Regions from separate parts of the Homo sapiens genome. Here all the other regions are linked to region 7. The links are contacts of gene promoters, found by promoter capture Hi-C in blood cells and fetal thymus (Javierre and others, 2016). All regions are on one chromosome and are shown on one strand. The core of a region is centred on a gene start or on the middle of the fragment in contact, and the rest is flanking DNA. Distances in the headings are between cores, read along the strand shown.

Region 1 (3,874 bases), core at 1,321-3,820, 370 kb before region 7:
ACCTGACGCCATGGATTGGGAAGATGTGCCTAGAGTTTTACATTTTTCAGGGGAAACTAGAAATCTGGATGAATTTATGAATTCTTACTAATTCAAAATGTCTAATTCAAACCAAAAAACAAATGACCAAATTTTTATGAGATCTAAGCATCTGGATCCAGCCTGCGGGCTCCGTGTTGGGCTCTGTCATGGGGAAGACACGATGGGACACACTGAGGCCTGGGGTGGGGTCCCCATGGAGGGGGATTATGGAACCTCCAACAGTGGTGGCAATAAATCCACAAAGCAAAGCAACCTCGATCAGTGAGAGGCAGGCGGGTCACCTCAGCAGCTGGGCTCCCACCTGCTCGCAAATCTTTCCCATCCAGCTATACGGACTGAGCGTGGGTGTCTCCAGAACACCCCACCTCTTAGACTTAAGTCAACTGCAGGACAGCACTAGCTAGCTTTTCCGGAGAGGAATGCTCGGCTCCAGGCTTTCTGCCTGCTGCCCATGGTGACACTGCTTACATGTACCATTCTCCAATTCCCCCTCCTCACCCTGCACATCCGCCAACCATGTGCGCGACTGGAACGGAGACCATGGTGGGGAATGGGTTGCGTTCTTTCGGGGACTGGGCTGTGGATGAAGGCAGAGCTGGCAGACAGGGATGTGGGCAAGGGCCCTGGCATCACGTGACCCCCTGCCGCCTTTTCTCCCTCTCCTTTTCCAGGAAGAAAGCACCATTGAGAATTATGCGTCACGACCCGAGGTAAGCCGTCTGTTTTCCCCGGCCCTCCAGCCACGAGTCTGTCCTCTCTCTCTTTTTGCTTCTTAGCAACTTTCCTAACACCCTGCGTTTCTGCCTAGGCCTTTAACACCCCGTTCCTGAACATCGACAAATTGCGATCTGTGAGTACGCTTCTCTGGTGCTACCCCCACGAATACCCTCATCACAGAGGGGATAAACGCCTTGGTAGAGAGCTTGCAAAGCTGCCACGGTTCCTTCACCTTCTCCAGAGGGCTGGGGGCTAAGCTCTGGCCTCCCCTGGAGCTGACCTGCTTCTGCTGTCTCTCTTCCTCCTCAGGCGTTTAAGGCTGATGAGTTCCTGAACTGGCACGCCCTCTTTGAGGTGAGTGCTCCGGCGCCCCTTGCCCTCCTCGGTTGTCTGCAGTCATCCCAGGGTAGTGGCCACACATTTTGGCTTTAAATGTATGGGTTGGTTCCTGATCTCTGGGAGGGAGTGACTGTCCTGCCTGGATGCTGCCCAATGGGCTGTCAACGGAAGAAAGCTTCCCCCGGCGCCAGTCCTGGCTACCCGTGTTTTCCTAAGATGGTGGTGGAGGAGCAGGGCCCCAAGGACAATTGCAGAAGAGGAAGAGGCTAATCGGTCAAGATTTTATTTGAATCCCCTCATCCTCTATGGAAAAACTGAGGCCCACCCGCACTTAGAAGGCAAAGTCAGCGACAGAGCTGGGGCCCGCGTCTCCTGACTCTGCACTGACTTCTCACATGGCCTCATGCGAACGCCTTCAGCTCCCTCGGCCTCCGCTTCCTCTGTGATGTGGGGATGATGACAATTCCCACCACAAAAGGTTGCTGTAAAAACCCACTGAAATCATGCTTGTAGAGCAGCCCGTGCAAGGCAGACACAGACTAAGGCCTCAGGAAATATTAGCTCTTGATAAAGTAATGACAAAATAATGACATTATTGTTACTATGGTTACTGTGGGAGTTCATTAAGGGAATGCTTACCCATCCATGCCCGGCTGACCTGCAACACATCACTCTCTTTCTCTTTCTTTCTTTTAGTCTATCAAAAGGAAACTTCCTTTCCTCAACTGGGATGCCTTTCCTAAGGTAAGAGGTGTGGGCATTAGGAGGGTATGGAGCTTGGGGGTAAGGGAAGAAGCAGAAGATATGGGAGAGAGAGTGGGGACAGGGAAAGGAGGATCAGCCTTCTCACCAAACTGAAGGGAGGTCTTAGCTACTACATATAGAGGAGAACGGGAACTCACACCGAGGCAGAAATTCCTTTCCATCCATGCCATCCTATACTGGGCACCCACGGGTTCCCCATCTAACCCTGACCCCTCTCCCTCTAGCTGAAAGGACTGAGGAGCGCAACTCCTGATGCCCAGTGACCATGACCTCCACTGGAAGAGGGGGCTAGCGTGAGCGCTGATTCTCAACCTACCATAACTCTTTCCTGCCTCAGGAACTCCAATAAAACATTTTCCATCCAACAGCTCCTGTATCTGCGTCTCTGTCCTCCTACTGGGCTTTACAAAGGAATTAAGATGGAATGAGCCCCAAGGCTGATAGGTAGAAATCTTGACTTCCAAGAGGAGAGTAAGTAGGGAGACAGGAGGAAATAGAAAGGACACACCAAGATGGCAAGAGACCCCCTTGTGTCTTAGCTCCTTAGTGTTGGCTGGGATCCTTGAGGAGCATGAAGCTATGACTTGCTTAGTAAGATGCTCAGGGAATCTCTAAACCAAAAGGTATCTGAGACAGGTCTCATTCTCTTAAGGGGGAGCTCCTGGACCCAGAAAACTGTCCTGTTGGTTTGAGCAATAAAGACAGCTCAAACCAGTACCAAGCAACGATAGATTTGTCAGAGGTCAGGGCCACCTCCATTCAGAGGCCATTCACGGGTTGCCAATTTGTAACCCAAAAAGTATCTGAGACAGGTCTCAATCAATTGAGAAGTTTATTTTGCCAAGGTTAAGGACAATGCCGGGGAGAAAAAAATACAGAATCAGAGGAACAGTCTGTGGTCTGTGCCTTTCTCCAAAGATGATTTTGAGAGCTTCAGTATTTAAAGGGGAAAAGCGGGGAAAGAGGGAGGGAATGGTCACATCACTGAATCCACATGTTATAAGAGAAAAGGAGCAGGTAGGGGAATAGTCCATTATATATTTGTCTCATGCTCAGTAAATCCAGCAGTTTACATAAGATATGGTGAACATAGAATAGCTATCTGTTGAGATAGTTAACCTTTTACCTGTAGCTATCTGTTTAGGAACAAAAGGAAAGGCAGCTTCTGGCATGTCTCAGCTTTCGGCTTATCTTTTTTCCTTTCGACAGAGTGAATTGGGGTCCCAAGTTTTTATTTTCCTTTCACAAATCAAACCTACTCCCTGACCTGTTGGCATTCCCCCTTACCTACCTTCTGAAAACCTGATTCCCTTTGTAGTGGCGATTTTGTGTAACAGAGCTATCTGAAATCCAAAGTTCAGGACCCAGCTTCAATCACATGAGCCCATCTGAAATCCTTTTTTTTTTTGGAATTAGGTGGGCTCTAAATAAAGAAAACTAGCAGCGTGACCTTGAGTCTTCCTAAGCCTCTGTTTCTTTATCCGTGAAATGAGTATGGAGATAAATAAGAATGATAACCACTCTGTGGTGTTGTTATGAAGGTCAAATGACATAAGTATATAAAGCCCCTTGCACACGGCCAGGCATATAGTAGATAGTGTATCTCTACTCCCCCAGTTTCAACCAGAGAGCAGCCGCAATGATCCAGATTCACTCATTCACTCGCGCATCCATCCATCCACCCAGCCATCCACCCACCCATCCACCCATCCACCCACCCATCCATCCATCCATCCATCCATCCATCCATCCATCCATCCATCCATCCATCCACTGCAAAGATCTTGAAACATGAAATGGATTTAGTTTTGCTTCCTGTAGATGTATTTTCTCTGACCCAATTTGTGTACTTAAAATACTAAACTAGTTGGAATTGTTTCTGGTTTCTCTTGAAAACTGGGAAGATTAGAGAACAGTGGACCTGCGACTGGCTTAAAGCCAAGTAGCAGCTGCCCTCTTTACACAGGACATGGCTTCCAGGGAACTTTCTACTTGGCAAGCTTCACTTGTT
Region 2 (4,068 bases), core at 1,085-3,584, 320 kb before region 7:
TCAGTATTACCAGGAACCATGGACTTACATTTCTTGCCTCTTGGTGTGTTGCCACATCCCAGCAGTGTGTCTCAACGGCTTTTGAGAACTGCTTCGAGAGGGGACCAGATGCGCAGAGACAAGCTTCCAGCCTGGCTAGGGACGGACCCTCTGGGGATGCTCCTCTCTGGCCGGGCAGCAGTAGAAGCACCTGCCTCCATCCACATCCAGACGCCATTCCCTTTTCTTCACCGCTGCTTCCCATCAGATGGTCCCCAGGAGTGGCAACCTCCCACTTGGTCTCGCAGGAGTCCCAGTGCTTCTCAGGTGTGTGTGCCACATCCCTCTTCTCTGAACACACAGTGGTCAGGGTGCCTGCACAGGGAAGGGCACCACAGTCCACCCTGGGAAAGGTCTTCAGTCTTCGGGAAAGAGCCTGTAAGCACCTTGACTGCTCTTCTTCTCTAGGGCAGAGAGCTTTCTTATCCACAGGGGTCCTTAGTCAGAGAGAGGGAGCGCACTCGGTGAGCTCTTTCAGAGGCAGCAGAGCCCTCTGCCTCTCCCCAAATCCCTGCTCCTACAAGTCGAATTAATCTCTCCTAGAAATCCAAGTCCTAACTTCTTCCAGGCGTCTTTTTACATCCACTGTTTGCATAGCCCACCCTTTCTTCTTTGGAGGATCCCCTCAGGTAACTTCCATCTGCTCCTCAGTGTGTCTTACCCCTTCCTTCTGTTCTTTCTTCACCTCCCTCCCTCTCCACCTCCACACTGGACTATATCAAATTCCTGTTCATTTTTTAGCATGGCCCAGTCAAAGCAGGTTAATCTCTCAGTCAGCAGAGGACATTTCACAAAAATTGGGGCCGCTAAATCACAAAAATATTCTCTAAGTCCAGGGCCAGCCCAGAAAAAATGCCCCAAGTCCAGGCAGCCCCCCAGAGTCTGCCGCCGTCTGGAAAATCCGGCTCAGCTCTTGCTCCTGCACATCCTCTCCTTTCCAGTGCTCTGTGTCTGGTCCCTGTCCCACCTCCTCTCCTTTCCCCAGTGTCTTCTGTCTGAATTCTGTGGGCCCAGGACAGCCCCAGCCTTCTCAAAGTCACCTGCATGTCTCTTGGATTAGGCAGCTGAGTGCAAGGTAACAACCAGATCATGCATTTTCATCTCTCCATGGATGGTTGGGGATAGAGCATCACAAGACAGGCATTGTGGCTGGGTGTGTTGGCTCATGCCTATGATCCCAGCACTTGGTGGGAGACCAAGGCAGGTGGATTGCTTGAGCTCAGGAGTTCAAGACCAGCCTGGGTAACATGGTGACACCTGATCTCTACAAAAAAATACAAAAATTAGCCAGATGTGGTAGTGCATGCCTTTAGTTCCAGCTACTCAGGAAGCTGAGGTCAGAGGATCACTTGAGCCCAGGAGATCAAAGCTGCAGTGAGCCTAGATTGTGCCACTGCACTCTAGCCTGTGGGACAGAGTGAGACCCTGATTTTTTTTTTTTTTAAAGGCAGACATGGTTCTTGCCTTCATGAAATTGACATTGTAGTTGTGGGGAGGGGTGAGACACTAGTACAGTCTCTACAGTAATATAGGAGGTAATGTGGGGCACGCTTTCGGAAGGAAATAGAATTGGATGATAGAATAGGGTAATCTGTGCTGGGGGCAGCAGGGAAATGTCCTTGAAGGGGTGACATTTGAGCCGAGGCCTGTAGGTGCTCTCCATGGAAGAGCTGGGAGAGGAACACTCGGGGCAGATGGGACATTTTTTGCAAAGGCCCTGAGGCGATACGAAGCTTGGTGTGATGGAGAAACCGAAAGGAGGCCAGTGTGGCTGGGGGGGTGGGGTGGGAATGAGCATGAGGGAAGTGATGGGAAACCAGGTCAGAGACGTGACAGCTGGGGGTGGAGGGGGTGGAGGGAAAACACATGGTGCAGGGCCCTGTTGTCCAAGGTGAGGATTTGGATTTTATTCCCAAAGTCATAGGAAACTCTTGAAGGGTATAAGGCAGAGGAGTAAGTGATCTGATGTATGGGTTTCATTTCTTTTATCATGTTTTATTTTCTTTCTTTATTTTTGTATGATGTGTGGGTTTTAAGGATTCCTCTGGCTTCCTGTTTTGTGCAAGTGTCTTGCCCCACTGTCTGTCAAAACTTTCTTCTTTCCCTGCCATTAGGGAAGCCCTCATGATTCAGCAGCTGCTCATTTCTCTTTCTCTCTCTCTCTCTATCTCTTCTGGCTTCACCGTCCTCCTGCAGTTGAATCCAAAGCTCATACCAATCTCTGCACAACAGCCAATAAATCAAGAGACGAGATATTGGGGGAAGGAAAAATGACATTATTTCAGAGAGCCAGCAGACTGAGGAGATAGCAGACCTAGTGTCTTGAGAACAATCTTAAGTAATAGAATTTTGGGCTCCTTTTACATTAGGGAAGGGGGAAGAGAGTGAGGTTTAAGATCAAGAGGTGACCGATGATAGCGGACATCTGGGTGGCAGTGAGTGTCCGAGGAGGGGCACTGTGCAACTTCTTTGTCCTGCTGAGGTCACAATGTTCCTATAAATCTTTAATATGATGTAGCTGCTAGTGTGTACACCCTCCTTATCTCCTTGGGGGTGAGTGTTGGGAAGGGATTATTGTCATCCTTGCTTTAAAGTTAAACTGTAAACTAAATTCTTCCCATGATTAGCTTGGCTGATGTGCAGGAATGACAAAGACCATTAGCTTGTGAGGTTAGAAGCAGGGTGGAGTCAGCTATGTCAGATTCTGCTGTTACACTCCATGCAGACCCACTTTCTAGATGAGGAGGGGGAGCATAAGTGTACTTTGCGTCTCTTGACTGTCCTCACATCATCTGCTTTTATTATTTTCTGTAAATGTTTATCATGTCCTGGATTTGAGTGAATACCACAAGCTTCCTGGCAAGGAGATGTTGATAAAAATGAGTACGGCTTTCCCCTTGAGTTTTGTCTCGCCTGGCCTCCTGCCCATTCTTGACTAGATGGAAGGGACCACAGGCTCTGAGGATGATCGAGGAATCTCCACTTGGCGAATAAGTCAAGCCACACGCGGTCTCGTGATCCTTAGACCCCTTCAGTGTCCTCCTCTCCACTCTGGTCACCTAGGGGGCATTCCTACCCTGCCCCTCTCCAGGTGTTCAGCCTGGGTAGGCGGGAGAAGGAGGAGGCGTTTCAGGTATGGGAGTACGAACCTGGAGCAAGGCTGCGTTCCTCCTGCTTTCTGCCAGCTGGCCTCACCTTCCCCCTTTTACAGCCTTCCCGTCTGATCTGGCATGAGGAACGTCAGGCTTCCATGACGCACCCCGCCCCTGTCACGTGCACATCTTTCCTAGGGTTAACAGGGGATCGTGCTGAAGACAGACTCTCCAGTGCTGCGGAGTATTCAGAAGCCTTTACATTGGCCAGTGTTTGTTCCCAGCCCTGCTGAGCCACCCCGTCTAGTATCTCTGAAGAGTGGAGGGTGATGCGGGTATTTGGGAAGAGAGAGTGTGGGATGGGATGGGGGTAAGTACATTGACAAAGCATGTTTCATGTTATTTTATATTTGAAGAACAAAACCAAAAACAGTTGTTTGCATGGCATGAAGTGGTGAACGTCAGCTTTTGGTTTATTTTTACGAAAGATTGAGAGGTACCAAGAAGGGAAGATGGCGGGCCAAGTCCAGCTGTCAGTGGGGGCTGTCCCCAACATTTATTTAGGCTGAGCTTCAAGCCTCTCTCCACGTCGCTAGTTCTTTCACAATTCCACCCCAGTCCAGCGCCCTCTTCCATTAGTAGAGCTGTCCATAACCCATGTGGGAACGCATGTAGGAGCTAAACACGCAGGTTTTGAGGTTAGACTACTGGGATTCACATCTCAGTTCCCATCCCATTGCTAGCTCTGGGTTCCCTGGCAAGTGACTTAACCTGTAGCTAAGCCATTAAACTCATGATTTCAGGGGTTAAAAGCGTGGAATCTGGAGCTGGCCCTGTGGGCTGCAGTCCTGGCGGCTACTTGTTGGCTGTGTCACCTTGGGCAAGGGCACTCATTTCTCTGGGCCTCAGTTTCCTCATTTGTAGAACGAGGAGACTA
Region 3 (3,655 bases), core at 1-2,500, 330 kb before region 7:
GATAGGTGGCTTCTTGGGATTGGTTCTGAAGGGAGGTCTGCAAGCTTCCAGGAGAGAGGAACAGAGCTTTAGCCCCTGCTTCTGTCCATGCCATGCAGGAAAAAATGGTGAGGAACCTGGCTGGTAGTAAGCATTTATACTAGCACCAGCCACGTGACCAGAGAAAGGAAGGTCAGTCTTTAAGCACTATTTCCTCTCAAACCCAAAGGAAAGGCCCAGCATCTTTATTCTCTCCCTAGAGAATCCTCACTCTTGACTTCCAAATTCAGATTTTTCTGTCCTTAATTCCTGATTTAAAAAAAAAATTCCCAGGCATTTTTCTTTTTTTACTTCCCAAGTCAGATTATTTTCTTTTCTCTTTCTTAGGCAGTTTCTTCTGTCATTCTGCTCATTCTCAGAAATGAGCTTTCCTCCTTCCTTTTTATTTTTCCTCTTTTTTTTTGGTTTTTTTTTTCGAGGCTGAATCTTGCTCTGTTGTCTAGGCTGGAGTGCAGTGGCGCCATCTCAGCTCACTGCAACCTCTGCCTCCCGAGTCCAAGCGATTCTCCTGCGTCAGCCTCCCTGGGATGACAGGCACCTGCCACCACGCCCAGCTAATTTCTGTATTTTTAGTAGAGACAGGGTTTCACCATGTTGGCTGGTCTTGCACTCCTGACCTCAAGTGATCCGCCTGCCTTGGCCTCCCAAAGTGCTGCGATTACAGGCGTGAGCCACTGCACCCGGCACTCCTTCCTTTTCTTCTTCAATTTTTTTACTTTCTCTATGGTCTCCTGCCCTCTGCCCCCAACACATTTCTTTTGCCCGTCTCAGCTGAAACAGGCTGGTCCTGGCCTGCATCTTGTTGTGATGGAAATGGTGTGGGAGTTATAGTCATGCAGATATGGGCTCAAATCCAGGTCCCTTCATTACAACCTTGGGGGCAGATCCGTTTTCTGAAGTCTAGTTTGCTGTAGTCAAGTGAGCATGCGAATTCTGACATCCTAGGACTTCTGCGAGGATTCAGTGAGGTTGTGTATATAAAGCACTTAGCAGATGCCCGTAAGTGCTGCCTCGTCTCAAGCCTGTAACGCAGCTTCACAGAGAGTGAGCCACTTGGTGCAGCCTCCAGAGGCTCAGGGCATGGATGTGCTGTCCCTCTTGGGAAAGTGTCAGGAATTCAGGAGGCCCGAGTTCACGTGCCCATGTGGCTTTTCGTCAGGGAGTGGCACTCAGGCTCCATTCCTTTCCCTGATAAAGTCTCACTGTTTCCCCCTCTCTGACCTTGGTAGCCCCAGGTTAGGAGCTCCTGAAGGTCCCTTTGAAATACACACCTAATGCAGCAAGGATCGTTGGAACGTGTTTTCCTCTTGAACTAGGGAGGAAGTCTCAGAAAGAAGTCTCTGTTCTGCCATCTGTGGCCTGATTCCTGCTCACAGAATCCCCATTCTTTCCCTAGGACATACCTACTTCCTATTGTTTGCCATTCATTCAGTCATTCAGTCAGTCAGTCATTTATTCTTTTTGTGGTCTGTAACCCCAGGGTCTAGACATTTTGATATTTAGCTTTTCTTTCTCGTCCACTCTACTCTCCTCTGAAGGCGTTCTAGTTCTTTATTTCCTTCCCCCAGCACACGTCGCTTCTCAGATCAACAGGAGAACTAAGAAAGAGACCATTCTCTCTTGTTGCCACCAAATTTATTTGTGTCATTTCGCTTTTATGATTTCCTATAAACATGCACGAGGATCTGGATTTAATTGCAGAATCCAGGAAACTCATTGGAAAACAAGTGTTGAGGAGTGGGACTGCCTCTCTGTCTCTGCACGTTCTTCTCCCCCCACCTCCTGCCTTTCGCCGTCACTGTCGTGAGTCCCCCTGTGGAAGACGCCCCAACGAAACCCCCTCTCTGGGTTCACAGCAGTTATGAATGTTCACCGCAGTTATGAAGGGAGCATCACCAAGGAGGCTTTCAGTCTCACAGTTCATGATGTCCACCTACGTCACAGGAAAAGGAAACCCAACCTCTCAGACCGAGTTCAAGGGGGTAAACTTTCACAAGAGCAATATCCTTCACAGTTCCTTCCAAGTTCAGTTTTCTCTCATCGTCTTTATAATGCAGCCTGTCATCACAGGAAGTTGGACCCTTATCTAAAGTTCTGTGTAATCACTTCCACATTCTTAATTCTCACTCGCCCCTCAGTCCACCCTAATCTGGGTTCTGTGCCTATTTTCCATGGGATTTTCTCTTCCCGATGTTAGCAGTGACCTCCATGTTCCTAAATTCAGTGGACTTACGCTTTTCTTATTTTATTAGCATTCAACACAATTTCCACGCCCTTCTGGAAACATCCTCTTTTCACAAATTCTGATACGTTACGCTGCTAGCTTCCCTCTCTTTCCTTTGGTCACTTCTCGTACCCCTTTGCTAGCTCACCATTCCCCTACTCATCCCCGAAATGGTGACTTCCTTCAAGCTTGGCTCCAGGTTCTTTCCTGTTCTCGCCTGTGCTCTCCTTCTAGTCGACTGCAACTGTTTCCGTAGTTCCAGTTACCACCTTCATGACACCCCTGGTTTGAATCTTCACCCTAGGTTTCTGTGAGCTTCACATGTACACGCTCAACTGCCTAGTTGACACTGCCATTGGGTGTCTCACAGGTGTCCCAAATCAACCAAATCAAATGTGTCCAGACCTGGCCTCAGATCTTCCTTCTTCCACCCTTCCCTGTCTTGGGGCGTAAGATCTCTTCCCATCACATCTCCTGCACCATTATCTTAGAGTCAGTCTTTTTTTTTTTTCTTTTTAATTTCGAGACTGAATCTCACTCTGTCGCCCAGGCTGGAGTGCAGTGGCACATAGTCTCGGCTCACTGCCACCTCTGCCTCCCAGATTCAAGCAATTCTCATGCCTCAGCCTCCCGAGTAGCTGGGATTACAGGCATGTGCCACCACACTCGGCTAATTTTTGTATTTTTAGTAGAAACGGGGTTTCACCATGTTGGTCAGGCTGGTCTCGAACTCCTGACCTCAAGTGATTCGCCCGCCTTGGCCTCCCAAAGTGCTGGGATTATAGGCGTGAGCCACTGAGCCTGACTAGAGTCAGTCTTAAAGTGAATCTCAATATTATCTTCTTCCTTATCCCTAGAATGCAGTCTGATGTACTCCCCAAATACTTATGGATTCCAAATATGAATCCATCCATCCGTCTCCATCTCCATCATCCCATCTCAGTGCCATCATCCCTACCAGGATTTCAGCAGGGCCCTGACTCACTTCCTCTCATCCATCTGCTTCCCTGGCAGTCAGTTCTCCATACTGTATTAGTGGAATCATTTTAAAAATGTCAATCCAATTATACGACCTTCTTGTCCTTTCAGAGACTTCTCACTGCTTTTAGGAGAAATATCAACATCCTTAAAAAGGCCTGCCTAGCATGGCCCTTGCCAGCTTCCACTCACATCACTCTTCTCTCTCTTTGCTGTCTGGGCAGGGCCATTTTCCACTTCTGTGAATGTGTCATGTTTTCCATCTGCCATGGGGAGCTTGAACCAGCCCCTGCCTGGTATGTCTTTATTTCTTGTTACCCATTCCAACTTTCACAGTTAATTTGTAGCTTTCTTTCAGATAACCATTTACTTCCTTAAGAAATCCCTGTCTGGCTGGGCACAGTGGTTCACACC
Region 4 (3,902 bases), core at 1,250-3,749, 420 kb before region 7:
CAGCTTGGCCAACATGGAGAAACCTGTTCTCTACTAAAAATACTGTAATCCCAGCTCCTCGGGGGGCTGAGGCAAGAGAATCTCTTGAACCTGGGAGGCGGAGGGTGCAGTGAGCCGAGATTGCGCCACTGCACTCCAGCCTGGGCGACAGAGTGAGACTCTGTCTCAAAAAAAAAAAAAAATCACCTGAGGAGGGCTCTTCCTAGAAAAATCGGACTCAGTGGGTCTGTATGGAGGCCCAGAAATCCTGTTTTTAATCAGCACTCCAGGCCGGGAGCGGTGGCTCACGCCTGTAATCCCAGCACTTTGGGAGGCCGAGGCAGGCAGATCACCTGAGGTTGGGAGTTTGAGACCAGTCTGACCAACATGCAGAAACCCCGTCTCTACTAAAAATACAAAAAAATTAGCCAGGCGTGGTGGCACATGCTTGTAATCCCAGCTACTCAGGAGGCTGAAGCAGGAGAATCGCTTGAACCCAGGAGGCGGAGGTTGTGGTGGGCGAGATCGTGCCACTGCACTCCAGCCTGGGCAACAAGAGCGAAACTCCATCTCCCAAAAAAAAATAAAAAATAAAATAAGCACTCCAGGCATTTCTTATCCTCAGGGAAGCTTAGAGAGTACCGTGTATCATACTCTGTGAAACCCATGGAAGCTCACATTGGCTCCCACCTCTCCACACACACTCCTGCTCCCAGACTGCACTTAAAAACACCTGCGCCTGGAGGTAGCAGCCGCCTGAGCTACAGAGGAGGGCTTGAGAAGAGGGGAGAAGTGGAGACTCAGGGGACCTGGTGGCAGAGAGTTTCAAGCTGGAAAGTCAAGCCTGGCTCAGTCCACACAGACCTGCTGCTCTGTGGATTTGAGCAAGTTAATGAACCTCTTGGGGCTGATCCCCCACCTAGGGGCTGCTGTGAGGGCGCAGTGAGATCTCGAGGCCCACACATAGGAGCTGATTTTAATAGAGGAGGGAAGTCTGATCCTACACAGATTCCTGAGGAAAGGGAGACAGCAGGGGGTGGAGAAGGGCTGGAAGGGGGTAGTGGGAGTCCAAGTTTTTGGCACCAAATCAAAGGCACCTGGGGGGTGGTGGGGCTGGGAGCCGGGGGCCAGCTGGCCTGTCTGTCTCCCTGACCTCTCCCTGTTGCCACAGACCTTGTGGCCTGAGGCTGGACTATAGGTGTTTCCAGTGGCTGTCCAAGTTCATGAAGGTGTTAGTGTTTATTGGTGAACTTGAGGATGTTTGCATCCTTGGGGGTTGTTTCTGCTATGGGAGAAAGGGGATTTGTCCACCTGGTTCAGGTGGGAATCTGAGCCCAATGGGTGACCCTTCCGAAGAAAACTCAGATGGTCCTCCTCTCCCAGCACTCCCAGCCTTGCACTCTCTTCCCCTCCACTGTAGGGGTGGGGTCCCCCGGTTGGAGAAAAGCCTGGGGGCTAGCTGGGTGCTGCCCCCAGCTCCTCACTGCGTCCTCCCACTGAATCCCGAGAGGCATGCGCTATAAACCCACTTTACAGAGGGGAAAATGAAGCCTGAGGCCACGGAGCAGTGATGCGCAGGGCAGGGGTTCAAGTCTCATGAGGCTGGTAAGCCTGTCTGCTCCTGTGTCTTCCAGGGTCTCCTGGACCAAAGCCCCAGCCCCACCTACCCCTGCGGCCCCCGCCCTTGGGAAGTGAGGGAACAGTGTGGGAATGGAGGCAGCCCACCGGAAGACCTGGTTCCTCCGGCTAGAGTGAGTGAGTGAGTGTGTGTGTGTGTGTGTGCGCGCGCGCGGGCGCGCCGCCCTTGTTGAGAGACTAAGGAAGTAGTTTGCCCTCTCTTAACCTCTGTTGGCCGCTCTGTAAACTGCGGGCACACTCTGGCCTTCTCAGGTGGTGGTGAGGCTTCCCTGAGCTCTCGCCTGCGAAGTGGTCAGCACGTCCCCGGCAAGGTTCCAAGTGTCCTTGTTTTGTGCATCACAGGGAGGGCAAAGCTCACCTCACGCGAAGCGCCATGAACATCACTTTTACATGGAAGCCCAGCACCCCTGGGTTCTCCCTAAGCCCCTCCTAAGCCCGCCCACTTCCCGCCACTTTCAGGCTGCAGCCTCCGATGGCCCTCGTTTCTGCTCTTTCTACCGCGTGATAGCGGCGCGAAGCCCACCCAGCCCTGGGGGCGGAGGCCCGGTCTCCCCGCCATGGCAGTAAACCCCACTCTGCCAGCACACTGGCGGGTGTGGAGGGAGGGAGAGCGGCTGATCCCCTGGTCCCTAGATGGTGCACACGCCAGGAAGGGCGGTAGGGATACGGCACAGGTGTGAGGGTGCAGACGCTCCCCACTACCCTTTCCACCCCTCCCCCGCGCCCTCCGCTGCCTCCCTCACCCGGGCACGGCTGTCGCAGCAACTGGACAACGGTGACATTGGTGAGGACGATGTCGCGCTTCGACATGGCCTCTTATAAGGTTATCATTGGCCTGGACCTGCTGTGATGTTACCGAGGTGCGTGCGGAGCGCCAGGGCTGTGGGTCCTGGGCTAATTGCCCTGATGTCACAGCACCCAGTGACGTCACAGTACCCAGTGACGTCGCCGAGGGGCGGCGCCCAAGCCAGAGGCCTGACACCATCGCATCCCATCCCCGTAGAGGCATGGGACGTCAGCACGCTATGCATCACCGTTCCACGGCCACGCACTGCCGTCTGGAATGGAATCCCACTTTTTAAAATTATCATTTGTTTATTTATTTTGAGACGGGGTGTCACTCTTTCTCCTAGGCTGGAGTGCAGTGGTGCAATCATGGCTCACTGCAGCCTTGAACTCCTGGGCTCAAGCGATCCTCCCGCCTCGGCCTCCTGAGTAGCTGGGACTACATGTGCAGCCACCACTGCAGGCTATTTTTACTTTTTATTTTTTTGTAGAGAGAGGGTCTCACTCTTTTGCTCAGGCTGGTCTAGAACCCTTGGGCTCAAGCGATCCTCCCACCTCGGCCTTCCAAAATGCTGGGATTACAGGAGCGAGCCACCACACCCAGCCTGGAATCCCACCTTTTACACTGTTCCTGAAAGCCCTTTCCTCTTCTCTGTCTCTTGAAGCACACAGGTTCCATGCTGTCCCTTGGATTCTCCAGTGGAGTGACTCTTGCTGCCTCCGTATGCCTGGAAGGCCCACCCAGGGCTTCCCTTGGCTGCCTCTTGGTTTCCCACCCTTTAAGAGAGGCTTTCTACACTCTGCATCTAAGTTCCCTCCTTTCTCTGTCACTGTCAGCCGTCACCCCCTTCCCAATTTCTGCCCATCTTCCAGGAAGCCTTGTCTGACTTCTCCATTCTGAGTTATGCTTCAGTGTGCAAAATTTCTCTAGGGCTACACTGTCTATGTTTTTATTTTCCTTAGAGCACATGTCTCTCTAAAAATTGTTTGTTTTCTTGCCAACTGTCTCTGTCCACCAGACTGTAAGCTCTGAGAGGACAGGGACGTCATCTATGTCACTTCTGTATCCCATTGACAAGAAAAGTGTTTGGCACCTGAAAGGTGTTTGTGGGCTGGACGCAGTGGCTCATGCCTGTAATCCCAACACTTTGGGAGGCTGAGGTGGGAGGATCATTTGAGTCCAGGAGTTTGAGACCAACATGGGCAATGTGGCAAAACCCTGTATCTACAAAAAATAAAAAAAGTAGCCAGGTGTGGTGGTGCATGCCTGTTGTCCCAATTATTAGGGAGGCTGAGGTGGGAGGATCACTTGAGCCTAGGAGGTCAAGGCTGCAGTGAGCTGTGATTGTGTCACTGCACTCCAGCTGGGAGACAGAGCAAGACCCTGTCTGAAAAAGGCGTTAGCCCAATAAACTATACCTGAATGAATAAATGTCAATTCCTCAGGTTTCATCTGATCGCTAATCTTTTCTTTTCTTTTCTTTTTTTTGAGACAGAGT
Region 5 (3,568 bases), core at 358-2,857, 440 kb before region 7:
GGCGCCCCCGAGCGCGTGCTGGAGCGCTGCAGCTCCATCCTTATCAAGGGCCAGGAGCTGCCGCTGGACGAGCAGTGGCGCGAGGCCTTCCAGACCGCCTACCTCAGCCTGGGAGGCCTGGGCGAACGCGTGCTCGGTGAGACCCCTGGGCAGGGGAGGAGACTCCAGGTGCGAGGAGGAGCTAGCACAGACCCTGCCCACCACTCCCGGCCCAGCCCTGACCGTCCTCATCCCTGGCTGCTGGCTGATTTGTCGCAGTCCACAGCCTCACCCTTGACTTTCCCTGTACCAGTCCTGACCCCTGTCTGTCCTCACTTTCTACCTTGACCCCAGTCCTCACCTGGACTTTTATCCGTATCCTGACCTCTAACCTCTCCCAATTTTTGTCCTGACGCCTTAAACTTCGCTGCCTCTACCCTAGAAAGCAGATCTGTGGTCCAATTCTGGGCCTTTTACTTGCTGTGTGACCTCTGGCAAGAAATGTCCCCTCTCTGAGCCTCAGTTTCCTCATCTGTAAGATGAGAATGGGCCTCACAGGGTGGTTGTGAGGGTAGATTCAGATAATGTGAGTGAAGGGGTCAGCACAAGGTCAGGCATCCATAGGTGTTTGGTGCAAGGGGCCTGGTTATTTTACCCATTTCCTGGCCCTGCTAAGAAAGGGTGTGCCCAGGGCTCTTCCCTGACTTCCCCGTTTCCGGTCAGGCTTCTGCCAGCTCTACCTGAATGAGAAGGACTACCCGCCTGGCTATGCCTTCGACGTAGAGGCCATGAACTTTCCATCTAGCGGCCTCTGCTTTGCGGGACTTGTATCCATGATTGACCCACCCCGGGCCACCGTCCCTGATGCTGTGCTCAAGTGTCGCACCGCAGGCATCCGGGTATGCCACTGTGGGGAGGAACAAGTGGAGTGAGGACAGAGGATGGCAGCAGGATTTGGGTTGAAGAACCCCATGACAAACCCACCTGAAACTGGCTTGAACCAAAATGCATTGGTTTATGATACTGAAAAATTCTGGGGAATTAAGCTTCAGGTCTAGCCAGATCCAGGAGCTCAGTGTCATTAGGAATTTTCCTTTCTCCATGTCTCAGCTCTGCTGTTCTCTTTGCTGGCTTTATTTGCAGGCACTCCCTTCACTTGGGGACACACACACCCCTGCTCCAGCAGCTCAAACTTAACTCCCACCTGCTTAGCCACCCCACAAAAAGAGAGTGCCTCTTTTGCAGTAGCACTGGATTGGGTCACTCATTTATCCCTGAGCCAGTCACTGGGGCTGGGGGATGGAAGACCTTGATTGGCCAGGTCTGGGCTTACTTACCCAATCTTAGCCAGGGACCTCACTGCAACTGATGGTGTAGGGGAGAGGAGTGGTTCCCCAAACACAAAACAAGGGTGGGAAAGCCAAGGCCAGGCAGGCAATGCCCAAGCCCTTCCCGTGTCTCTACGGCCCTGTTACATCGGGCCTTGTTACCTTTCTAAGCTTGTTCGTTAGCCCTCTTTCCTTGTTCACTCCTCTGCAGTTATGGTGTCCTCCCTGCTGTTCCTCCGACAGTTCGGGCCTGTCCTCACCTCAGGGCCTTTGCACCTGCTGTTCTCCCTGCCAGGAGCACTCTTCTCCCAGCTTTCCACGTGGCTGACTCTCTCACCTCTTACAGGTCTCTGCTCAGATATCACCTTCTCAATAAGCCCTTCCCTGGGTACACTTAAAATCGAGTCACCGTTTCCTTCACCAAGCTTAATATGTTTTTTTCCACTTTCTAACACACTATATAATTCGTTTCTTTATTTTCTGTCACCCTCACTAGAGCTCCTCAAGGACAGGGATTTTTGTCTCTTTTGTCTCTGCTATATCCCAGGCACGTAGGAGGTGGTCACGCTTGGTCAAGTAAATGAACACGTGTATCAGCAGATGTCTCCCAGGGAGGACAGGGAGATTGGGCTGATCTGAAGGGGTCAGTGATCCACTGGTTCCCCCTACAGGTGATCATGGTAACGGGTGACCACCCCATCACCGCCAAGGCCATTGCAGCCAGTGTGGGCATCATCTCGGAAGGCAGCGAGACAGTGGAGGACATCGCTGCCCGCCTCCGTGTGCCCGTAGACCAGGTTAATCGCAAGTAAGCCCCCCCAGACCTCCCCGGGGTTCTCCCCACATCTGGCACAGACCGAGGTCCCAGCGAGGTCCTCCCATCTCCTCCCCAGGGATGCCCGTGCCTGTGTGATCAATGGCATGCAGCTGAAGGACATGGACCCATCGGAACTGGTCGAGGCCCTGCGCACCCACCCCGAGATGGTGTTTGCGCGCACCAGCCCCCAGCAGAAGCTGGTGATCGTGGAGAGCTGCCAGCGGCTGGTGAGCCCTGCTGATGAGGGTGGGCAGGCGGGCAGACAGGCGGGGCTGGTCTTGGACCGGCCTCTCACTGACCACCCACCCACCACCTGCACCCACTGCCTGCAGGGTGCGATTGTGGCCGTCACGGGGGATGGTGTGAATGACTCCCCAGCTCTGAAGAAGGCAGACATCGGAGTAGCCATGGGCATCGCTGGCTCAGATGCTGCCAAAAATGCAGCTGACATGATCCTGCTGGATGACAACTTTGCCTCCATTGTGACAGGCGTGGAGCAGGGTCCGAGCCACGCCAGGGGGAGGGCAGGCAGTGTGGGCACAGGAGGGAGAGGGCTGTGAGGAGGCTGAGGTGCCCACCCTACCCCACAGGTCGACTGATCTTCGACAACCTGAAGAAGTCTATTGCCTACACATTGACCAAGAACATCCCAGAGCTGACACCCTACCTCATCTACATCACCGTCAGCGTGCCCCTGCCCCTCGGGTGCATCACCATCCTCTTCATCGAACTCTGCACTGACATTGTAAGTCCACAGCCCAGGGTACCCATCCACAGGGTGCCCAGAGACACTTGCTTGCAGATGGACAGGAGGGACAGAGACCACCACAGACACTCTTGGGCACAGAGTGACAGACAAGACCTGTGTGTGCAATGACAGCCAGTGCAGGACACATGGGTGGCAGGCAGGTGAACAGACCTAAATGGACATACAGCCATGCACACACAGGCGGACACTCAGGTAGGCCCGGGCCGACCCATGCACACACATGACTCAGATACAGATACTCAGACAGAGATGGAAACAGAACAGGTATCTGGCCAAACTTGAATCACAGACACGTGCCCCTAAACAGACACGGACAAATAAACCCCCTCAGATAGACCCCATGGCAGACAGACAGAAAAGAACCACAGATACAGTCACGAATGCAGCCAGAGGCGCAGCTGTGTTGACAGGTATTTATTCGGTAACATTTACACAGTGCTTTCTCTGGGCCAGACACACCATCATTTCCTTAATTTTGTACTCATAACCACACTATGAGATGAGTTTTGTTACTATCACCCGTACTTTACTGATGAGCTCATCAAGGCATAGACAGGTAGAGTGGATTGTCCCAGGTCACTGGGCAAATAAGTGGCCCGGCTGTGACTTGAGCTTGAGCAGTCACAGGTCCCACAGCCTGTGGTCGTGGTCAGTATGCTCTGCTGCCACTCTAGG
Region 6 (3,876 bases), core at 904-3,403, 480 kb before region 7:
GCCACCGCGCCTGGCCTACTTCTATTTTTTTTAAGACAAGGTTTTGTTCTGTTGCTAGTCTGGAGTGTAGTGGTGTGAACACGGCTCACTGCAGCCTTGACCTCCTGGGCTCAAACAACCTCCTGCCCCAAACTTCTGAGTAGCTGGGGCTACAGGTGCAAGCCACCATGCCAGGTTAATTTTGAAATTTTTTGCAGAGATGGGGTCTCACTATGTTGCCCAGGCTGATCTTGAACTCCTGGGCTCAAGTTATTTATGTATGTATTTATTTGAGACAGGGCCTCACTCTGTCACCCAGGCTGGAGTGCAGTGATGTGATGATGGCTCACTGCAGCCTCGACTTCCTGGGCTCAGGTTATCCTCCTGCCTCAGTCTCCCAAGTAGCTGGGACTATAGGCGTGTGCCACCACACCCAGCTAACTTCTTTGTATTTTTAGTAGAGACGGAGTTTCACCATGTTTTCCAGGCTGATCTCAAACTCCTGGGCTCAAGTGATCCACCCACCTCGGCTTCCCGAAGTGCTGATATTACAGGCATGAGCCTTTGAACCTGGCTATTTTTTTTTTTTGAGATGGAGTCTCCCTCTGTCGCCAGGCTGGAGTGCAGTGGTGCGATCTCGGCTCACTGCAACCTCTGACTCCCTGGTTCAAGCGATTCTCCTGCCTCAGCCTCCCTAGTAGCTGGGATTGCAGGCATCCGCCACCACGCCCAGCTAATTTTTGTATTTTTAGTAGAGACAGGGTTTCACCTTGTTGGCCACGATGGTCTCCTGACCTCGTGATCTGCCTGCCTTGGCCTCCCAAAGTGCTGGGATTACAGGTGTGAGCCAACGCGCCCGGCTCTGGCTATTTTTTTTTTAAGTGCATTATGAAAATATTTTATAACTTGTGTGTTTAGATCATGTGCCTTAAATATGATTATTGGTATGTTTTGCTTTAGGTCTACTATTATTTGTTTTTTATTTCCACTTTTCTGTGTTTTGTTCCTTGTTTTCCCTTTTCCTTCTTTCTTTTGGATTATTCAAATACTATTTTAGTACTCCATTTTAATTTATTTATTGTGATTTTCACTATATATCTTTGCAAGTTTTAAGTGATTGCTCTACGGATTATGGTAAACACACTTAAACATTCTATAGTCTACCTAGATTGAATATTTTGCAACTTCAAGTGGAATATGGAAAACTTCCACCATATTGGTCCCTTCATTGTCTCCCATGTATGCGTTAGCTTTCACATGCATTATAAAGACATGTATTGAAAATACATCCGTCCAGGGCTGTGGCTCACGCCTGTAATCCCAGCACTTTGAGAGGCTGAGGTAGGTGGATCACCTAAGGTCAGGAGTTCAAGACCAGCCTGGCCAACATGGTGAGACCCCGTCTCTACTAAAAATACAAAAATTAGCTGGGCATGGTGGTGGGCGCCTGTAATCCCAGCTACTAGGGAGACTGAGGCAGGAGAATCGCTTGAACCCAGGAGGTGGAAGTTGCAGTGAGCCAAGATCACACCACTGCACTCCAGCCTGGGTGACAGAGTGAGACTCTATCTCCAAAAAAAAAAAAAAAAGAAAAAAAAAAAACGAAAAGAAAAACGCCAGGCACGGTGGCTCATGCCTGTAATCCCAGCACTTTGGGAGGTTGAGGAGGGCAGATCCCGAGGTCAGGAGATCGAGCCCATCCTGGCTAACAAGGTGAAACCCCGTCTCTACTAAAAATACAAAAATTTAGCTGGGCGTGGTGGCGGGTGCCTGTAGTCCCGGCTACTCGGGAGGCTGAGACAGGAGAATGGCGTGAACCCGGGAGGCGGAGCTGGCAGTGAGCCGAGACCACACCACTGCACTCCAGCTTGGGTGACAGAGTGAGACTCCATCTCAAAAAAAAAAAAAAAAAAAAAAACCCTCCCAAAGTGCTGGGATTACAGGCGTGAGCCACCATGCCCAGCAGTCATTCCTTTCAATGGCAAAAACCGCAATTATTTTTGCATCAACTACACACACAGACACACACACACACACATATCTCATGTCACCTGCAGATACAGTTTTATTTCTTCCTTTCCAATCTAAATGCCTTTTTTTCTTTTTTGAGACAGAGTCTCACTCTATTCCTCAGGCTGGAGTGCAGTGTTGGTGTGATCATAGCTCACTGCAGTCTCAAAGTCCTGGGCTCAAGTGATCTCCCTGCCTCAGCCCCCTGAGCAGGTAGGACTACAGGCATGTGCCACCATGCTTGGCTAATTTTTTAATATTTTTTGTAGAGATGGGGTCATGCTGTGTTGCCTAGGCTGGTCTTGACATCCTAGTCTCAAGTGATCCTCCTGCCTCCCAAAGTGTTAGGATTACAGACGTCAGCCACTGCGCCGGGCCCTGTTTGCGTTTTTTTCTTGCAGTGACTAGAACTTCCAGCACTATGTCAAATAGGAGTGTCAAGAGCAGACATCCTTTCCTTGTTGTTGATCTTATAGGGAAAGTATTCCATCCTTCATCATTAAATATGATATATATTTGGTGTGTTTAAATCTATTATTGTTATTACTATTATTATTATTATTATTATTTGAGACGGAGTTTTGCTCTTGTTGCCCAGGCTGGAGTGCAATGGCGCCATCTCGGCTCACTACAACCTCCGACTCCCGAGCTCTAAGCGATTCTCCTGCATCAGCCTCCCGAGTAGCTGGGATTACAGGTGACTGTCACCACGGCTGGCTAATTTTTATATTTTTAGTAGAGACGAGGTTTCACCATGTTGGCCGGGCTGGTCTCGAACTCCTGACCTCAATTGATTTACCTGCCTCAGCCTCCCAAAGTCCTGGGATTACAGGAGTGAGCCACCGCGCCTGGCCGTTATTAATATTTTTGATGTTTAAGTTGTACCACTCTGGGCCAGTGGGCGCTCCTTCAAGTTAGCTTCTATGTCGAAAATAAAAATGATTTGTTAAGAGAAAGGTAAGTGATTAACAAGTGACTCCAGCAGGTAAAAAGATTGAATTGCTACTAACGGTCGATGGGAGGCAGTGTTGTCCACCTAGTGCTTAAGAACACGGCTTTTGGTGGCAGATTTCCTGGTTCCCAATCCTGGCCCCTCAGTGAATTCGCTGTGAGACCTGCACTGTGTCTTTCCAGCTCCCTGTGCTTTATCCTCAGTCTGTAAGAATGCAGGCTATAGGGTTAGTGTGGAGACCAAAAGAATCAATACTCCGAAGCTGCTCATAACAGTGGCTTGTACTTGACTCCGAGAGTTGCTGCTTTCACCATCATAGTGAAGACAAAGTACTCAAAATCTGCTACACGAAAAAGATTACAGGCCCAGAAGATTTTGCAGGCATGTTCACTCCAACTTTTTTTTTTTTTTTTGGAGATGGAGTTTCGCTCTTGTCACCCAGGCTGCAGTGCAATGGCGTGATCTTGGCTTACTGCAACCTCCGCTTCCCGGGTTCAAGTGATTCTCCTGCCTCAGCCTCCCGAGCAGCTGGGATTACAGTTGTGTGCCACCATGCCCAGCTAATTTTTGTATTATTAGTAGAGATGGGGGTTTCACCATATTGGCCAGGCTGGTCTCGAACTCCTGACCTCAGGTGATCCACCCGCCTCAGCCTCCCAAAGTACTAGGATTACAGGCATGAGGCACCATGTCCGGCCCACTCCAATCTTTAAGAAGCAGCTAATTCCCATGACATAGAAATGTTTCCAGAACACAGAAACACATTGAATGCTTCTCAACCCATTCTGCATTGCCAGCACTGCCCCAATGCAAAGGACTGAGAACAGCCCCCAGATGAAAACTATGTAGGACCCAAATAAGGCATAAGCAAACCATATCCATCACATATTAAAAGAATAATAGAGGCCGGGCATGGTGGCTCACGCCTATAATCC
Region 7 (3,870 bases), core at 609-3,108:
TTGGGGGAGCTGGCGTGGGTGGGTGGGCAGGATGGCATGTTGGATAGGGGCACAGGTTGTAGGTGGACTGCCTGTGGTCTGAAGCTGTCACCCATGACCATACGAGTCCTGGTAATAACAGCAGATGCTTATTGAGTGTCTACCCCATGGGGGCATTTTCTCAGCTTCCCACTTACTCGCTCAATCTCTGCAGCTTAATGCAGGGGGCACTATTATTAGCCCACATTGCAGTTGTAATCCTGTAACCCCTGCAAATTCATCTTAAAGCCCTATGCTCTGTCGCCATGGCTGTTGAGTCTCACCTCTTAAGCCTCTTTCCAGGGGCTCCTCCAAGCCACCTCTGGCCTGCAAGGCCCCACTATACCCCCTTCCCATGATGTCATCCAGCCAAGACTGACAGATGGTATCCTCCTCGCCCCAGCCTCTGCAAAACAACGTCCAGTCCCATGCTTCCGGAGGCTGCAGGGAGCCGGGAGCTGGGTCTGCCCTCACGTTCCCCATTCAGGCTGTTGTCTGAAGAGGCTGTGGGCTGCTCCCGAACTGATGTGGTTGGTGAGCAGGTTAGAGAGGAAGGCAGCCCTGCAGCTGATGCTCTGTCTACCTGCTCTCATCCTTCCTGGCCATGAGGTCCCAAGGCCGGCCTGAGGACTGTTTCCCCCACCTGCCCTCTGCTATCCCCTCTATTCCTCCATACCATGGGAGAATGGTCTCATGTTCAGGGGTGGGTAGAAAGATCCTGCCCGCTGTGTGCTCCTGAAATCTCCCAAGCAACTCCCCATTTAAAGCTTCCCCCAGCAGCTCCATCCTTTTTTCCTGGAGGTCTCCAGAATCCAGATCCCTCAATGTCTGGACACCCCGAGTCCACCCAGCACTCCTTATCCACCCAGATCCCTCAATGTCTGGACACCCCGAGTCCACCCAGCATTCCTCATCCACCCAGATGTCCCCAGTCCATCTACGCACCCCTGGTCCACTTAGATACCCCTACCTACCCAGGCACCCCCTCTCCTCCACCCAGCTATCCCCAACCCAGATATCCCTAATCCATGCAGACACTAGTCTTTCAGACACCCCAACCACACTTATCAGTCCTGCCCTCACCTCAGCTGGTTCAACAAGTCCCTGAGAGGAGAATGGTGGGGAAAGGGACATTAGGGGAAGGGACTTCCGTTTATCTCCTGGCTCCAGAAAAGCATTTCACAAGATTTTAGGCGCTTTAACATAAAAGCTTCTATGGGGCAGGGTCAGGGGGCAGGTAGATACTTCCTAATTTAGGGGCAGAGACAAGGAGGGCTTGGAGGAAGGGGCCCCAGCTGCTCACCTGTGTGGTTCACCAGGCTGAGCAGAGGTTCCGGGAGAAATCGGGCTGCCAGGCGGAGTCCTGCGTTTATCCGAAGCTGCCACGCCCTAAGCAAACCTGGGCAGGTAGAAAACAAGTCAGATGCCCTGAGGCCCAGGGGCTCCATTCCTGCTCTTAAAGAGACAGCTTCACCCCCTCCCCAGCCATGGGCGGCAGGTTGCTCCCTGGGGTCACCAGGACCACAGCAGCCTCAGGTGAGACGGAGAATTGGATGGGCTGGAACTCGGCCCCTGGAATTAAGGGAGGAGCTTTCTCCAATCTCCTGTGCCCAGGAGAGGACCTTGAATGGGGAAGGTTCTGGGGTCTTTAAACGGCAGAGCCTCCAGGGCCATGCAGTGAGATGATGCGTTGGTGTTCCGACCTCACTTCTTTTCCTTAGATGATGTGTTTTGCCTGGTGGAAGGATTGCTGGCAGTTGTGGAGAACTTAAAGTCCCCTTCCAGGCCACATCTTGCCGCTGGTACAATTTCAGGATCAGCAGAAGATGCTAGCGTGACCAAAGTCAGGAGATGGGGCAGGGGTGGATATGAGGGAGCGGCTGGAACAGCAGGGAGGGGTCAGGGTGGGGACTCTGGGACCTTAGTCCTGGTCATAACCTGCTCCCTGCCCTGGGGAGAATGAGAACTGTCTGCCAGGCACCAGGCTGCAGTTTCCTAGCCAGGCTCTTTCCGTGGGTGCTGGGAGCCAGACGCCTGGGTCTACAGAGTGGGTGCTGGTGGGGGCGGCTGCCTCCTAGTCCACATAAGGCCCCCAGCACTGTACAAGCCTCCCTCCCCCTTTCCTCCCCTGTCTCCTGCTCCTCCTCCTCCAGGCATTCCTTCCGGATGGGGTCTGTGCAGGCTCCCCCATGGTCCCAGTTGGGGGTGCCCCCTCCCCTCAATTCCGCCTTCTTAGACAGAGGGACTTTTGTCTGGGGGCTGGATGGAGAACAAGGATCCTTTGAGCGGTTGGCGGAGGATTGGGGTCACGGGGAGGGGTAGGGCCAGGAAAGGGGTAGCTCTGCCCTGGACACCAGCTGGACTCCAGGCGACCCCAACACCACCGTGGGGGCGGGGAGGAGGGCTGCAGGGCCTGGCCAGGGAGAAGCAGCTGCTGGGAGTGTGGAGCACAGGACAGGAAAAGGGGGTTTGGGTCAAGGCTCTTCCGGAAACTGGCCTGCTGGGGGCAGAGAGAAGGACCCCCCACTTGTCATCGCTGAGGGATCGGGGAGGGCAATGTTCGCCCAGCGCTACACCCCTTCTCTATGTGGTTCCCTGGGGCAAGTTGTCAAGCCCAGGTCCTAGACAAGGGTAAGGCTCCCTCCTACCACTCTTAAGGCGGGGCCAGTTCCCATAAGGAAGCCGGGCGGGGGGACCTCGGGGTAGGGCTCTAAGCAACAGGTCCAGGAGGAGATAGAAACAGGAAGGGGAGGCCCGGAGGCCAACTCAGTATAGCTAAGGGGGGTCTTTGTGTCTGGGCGGATAGCGTCTCTTCCCTAGACCCTTGAAGCTTGTGTCTGGGACGACCCCTTGGTGGTCTTGGGAGTGGAATGGTGTCTCCCTCTGCTGGGAAGCCTGGGAACTGCAGGCATCCGAGAGCGAGTAGGGGCGTGTACAGGGTGGCTGGGAAGGGCGGGGGGTGCTCTGCCCTTCACCGGAACGGGGTGAACTGGAGAACTGTTGTCTAAAAATCTTGGAGGAACACCCCTGCCCGTGGTTAGATACAGAAGTATTTCCCAGACAGCTTGCTAAGGGGAAAAAAAACAAGGTATTGGGAAACCGTGCAGTGTGCTACCATTTGTGAGCGGTAAAATAATGCATATGTATATACTTGTAATGAATAAAATATTTTTGGAGATTGGCATCCATACCCATGGCTTCTGGAGAGGGAAACTGGGAGGCTGGAGGGTGGGGTGGAAGTGAGACTCACTCATTATCACGTGCCCTCTTATATTTTTTGAATTTTGCATCTTGAAAATGTACTACCTTAAAGGGGTTTAATTTAAAAAATTTGGTTCAGATTTAAAAAAAAATTTGCAGGTCAAAATTTCAACCTAAGGGCTGGTTTCAACCTGGGGGACCAGCAATTAGAGACTTCTGACAACCTCTGAATGTTCTGTAGTTTTAAACACCATGATCTTACATTCTGAGGTACAGACGTTTACGGTTTTTACCCAATCCAGGTCAACCATAAATTCTTCCTAGGCTGGACGTGAACATGCTGCGTCCAAGTGTGTGTTGGGCTGGCGCTGGGGCTTGGGTTTATGGTCAGAAGGACTCTGAGACCCTAGTGTGATGAGCACACTGAGTCTTAGGAAGGGCTGTGAGGAGTAGAGTTTGTGCAGTCACTTGCACCCTATTGGGGATTAGGTCTCATTTGGAGTGAGTCTTCTGGGCCAATCTGACTTCAGTTATGTTTTAAATGCATGTAGGTAATATGTTTTATTAATATATTGTATATAATATACATAATAAACATATTTGAAAAAGTTTCTCTCGTTTTGCTTTTGGAATCATTTGGGCCCAAAGAAC

The links. The method cuts DNA at HindIII sites, captures the fragments that hold promoters and counts their contacts. A CHiCAGO score of 5 or more calls a contact.
Region 1: a contact is called between a fragment that was not itself captured here and the fragment with the promoter of FXYD3 in region 7, in 8 of 17 cell types (total B cells, naive B cells, total CD8 T cells and 5 more). The highest score is 9.9, in total B cells.
Region 2: a contact is called between a fragment that was not itself captured here and the fragment with the promoter of FXYD3 in region 7, in 1 of 17 cell types (total B cells). The highest score is 5.3, in total B cells.
Region 3: a fragment that was not itself captured here is called in contact with the fragment with the promoter of FXYD3 in region 7 in 5 of 17 cell types (naive B cells, total B cells, total CD4 T cells and 2 more); the score reaches 11.0 in naive B cells.
Region 4: the fragment with the promoter of GAPDHS here is called in contact with the fragment with the promoter of FXYD3 in region 7 in 2 of 17 cell types (naive CD4 T cells and monocytes); the score reaches 5.8 in naive CD4 T cells.
Region 5: a fragment that was not itself captured here is called in contact with the fragment with the promoter of FXYD3 in region 7 in 4 of 17 cell types (total B cells, naive B cells, naive CD8 T cells and 1 more); the score reaches 7.7 in total B cells.
Region 6: a contact is called between a fragment that was not itself captured here and the fragment with the promoter of FXYD3 in region 7, in 5 of 17 cell types (naive CD8 T cells, total B cells, total CD8 T cells and 2 more). The highest score is 8.0, in naive CD8 T cells.

The regions. Positions count from the first base shown.
Region 1 is chr19:35,485,680-35,489,553 of GRCh38, reverse strand. It overlaps KRTDAP (keratinocyte differentiation associated protein), which reads left to right. Exons shown (of 6, transcript NM_207392.3): 2 at 714-752; 3 at 851-892; 4 at 1,069-1,113; 5 at 1,795-1,842; 6 at 2,088-2,230. The coding sequence ends at 2,126. Among named protein-coding and RNA genes, the nearest start is that of KRTDAP, 2.8 kb to the left of the region's middle. The HindIII fragment of the contact is 2,590 bases long and covers 1,276-3,865 here.
Region 2 is chr19:35,429,097-35,433,164 of GRCh38, reverse strand. LOC101927522 (a long non-coding RNA gene) reads left to right here. Exons shown (of 7, transcript NR_187751.1): 3 at 63-306; 4 at 3,330-3,501. Among named protein-coding and RNA genes, the nearest start is that of FFAR2, 17 kb to the left of the region's middle. RefSeq lists an enhancer at 1-271. The HindIII fragment of the contact is 1,119 bases long and covers 1,775-2,893 here.
Region 3 is chr19:35,444,711-35,448,365 of GRCh38, reverse strand. It overlaps FFAR2 (free fatty acid receptor 2), which reads right to left and starts at 109. Exons shown (of 2, transcript NM_001370087.1): 1 at 1-109. RefSeq lists an enhancer at 2,073-2,152. The HindIII fragment of the contact is 2,407 bases long and covers 47-2,453 here.
Region 4 is chr19:35,532,053-35,535,954 of GRCh38, reverse strand. It overlaps GAPDHS (glyceraldehyde-3-phosphate dehydrogenase, spermatogenic), which reads right to left and starts at 2,499. Exons shown (of 11, transcript NM_014364.5): 1 at 2,361-2,499. The coding sequence starts at 2,427. RefSeq lists an enhancer at 1,513-1,642. The HindIII fragment of the contact is 5,250 bases long and covers 612-3,902 here.
Region 5 is chr19:35,554,223-35,557,790 of GRCh38, reverse strand. It overlaps ATP4A (ATPase H+/K+ transporting subunit alpha), which reads left to right. Exons shown (of 22, transcript NM_000704.3): 11 at 1-136; 12 at 703-878; 13 at 1,979-2,115; 14 at 2,201-2,351; 15 at 2,457-2,625; 16 at 2,715-2,869. Among named protein-coding and RNA genes, the nearest start is that of ATP4A, 7.7 kb to the left of the region's middle. The HindIII fragment of the contact is 254 bases long and covers 1,481-1,734 here.
Region 6 is chr19:35,591,593-35,595,468 of GRCh38, reverse strand. No RefSeq gene overlaps it. Among named protein-coding and RNA genes, the nearest start is that of LINC01766, 4.4 kb to the left of the region's middle. The HindIII fragment of the contact is 9,877 bases long and covers 1-3,876 here.
Region 7 is chr19:35,113,811-35,117,680 of GRCh38, reverse strand. FXYD3 (FXYD domain containing ion transport regulator 3) reads right to left here and starts at 1,858. Exons shown (of 9, transcript NM_005971.4): 1 at 1,722-1,858; 2 at 1,322-1,417. The HindIII fragment of the contact is 1,620 bases long and covers 1,231-2,850 here.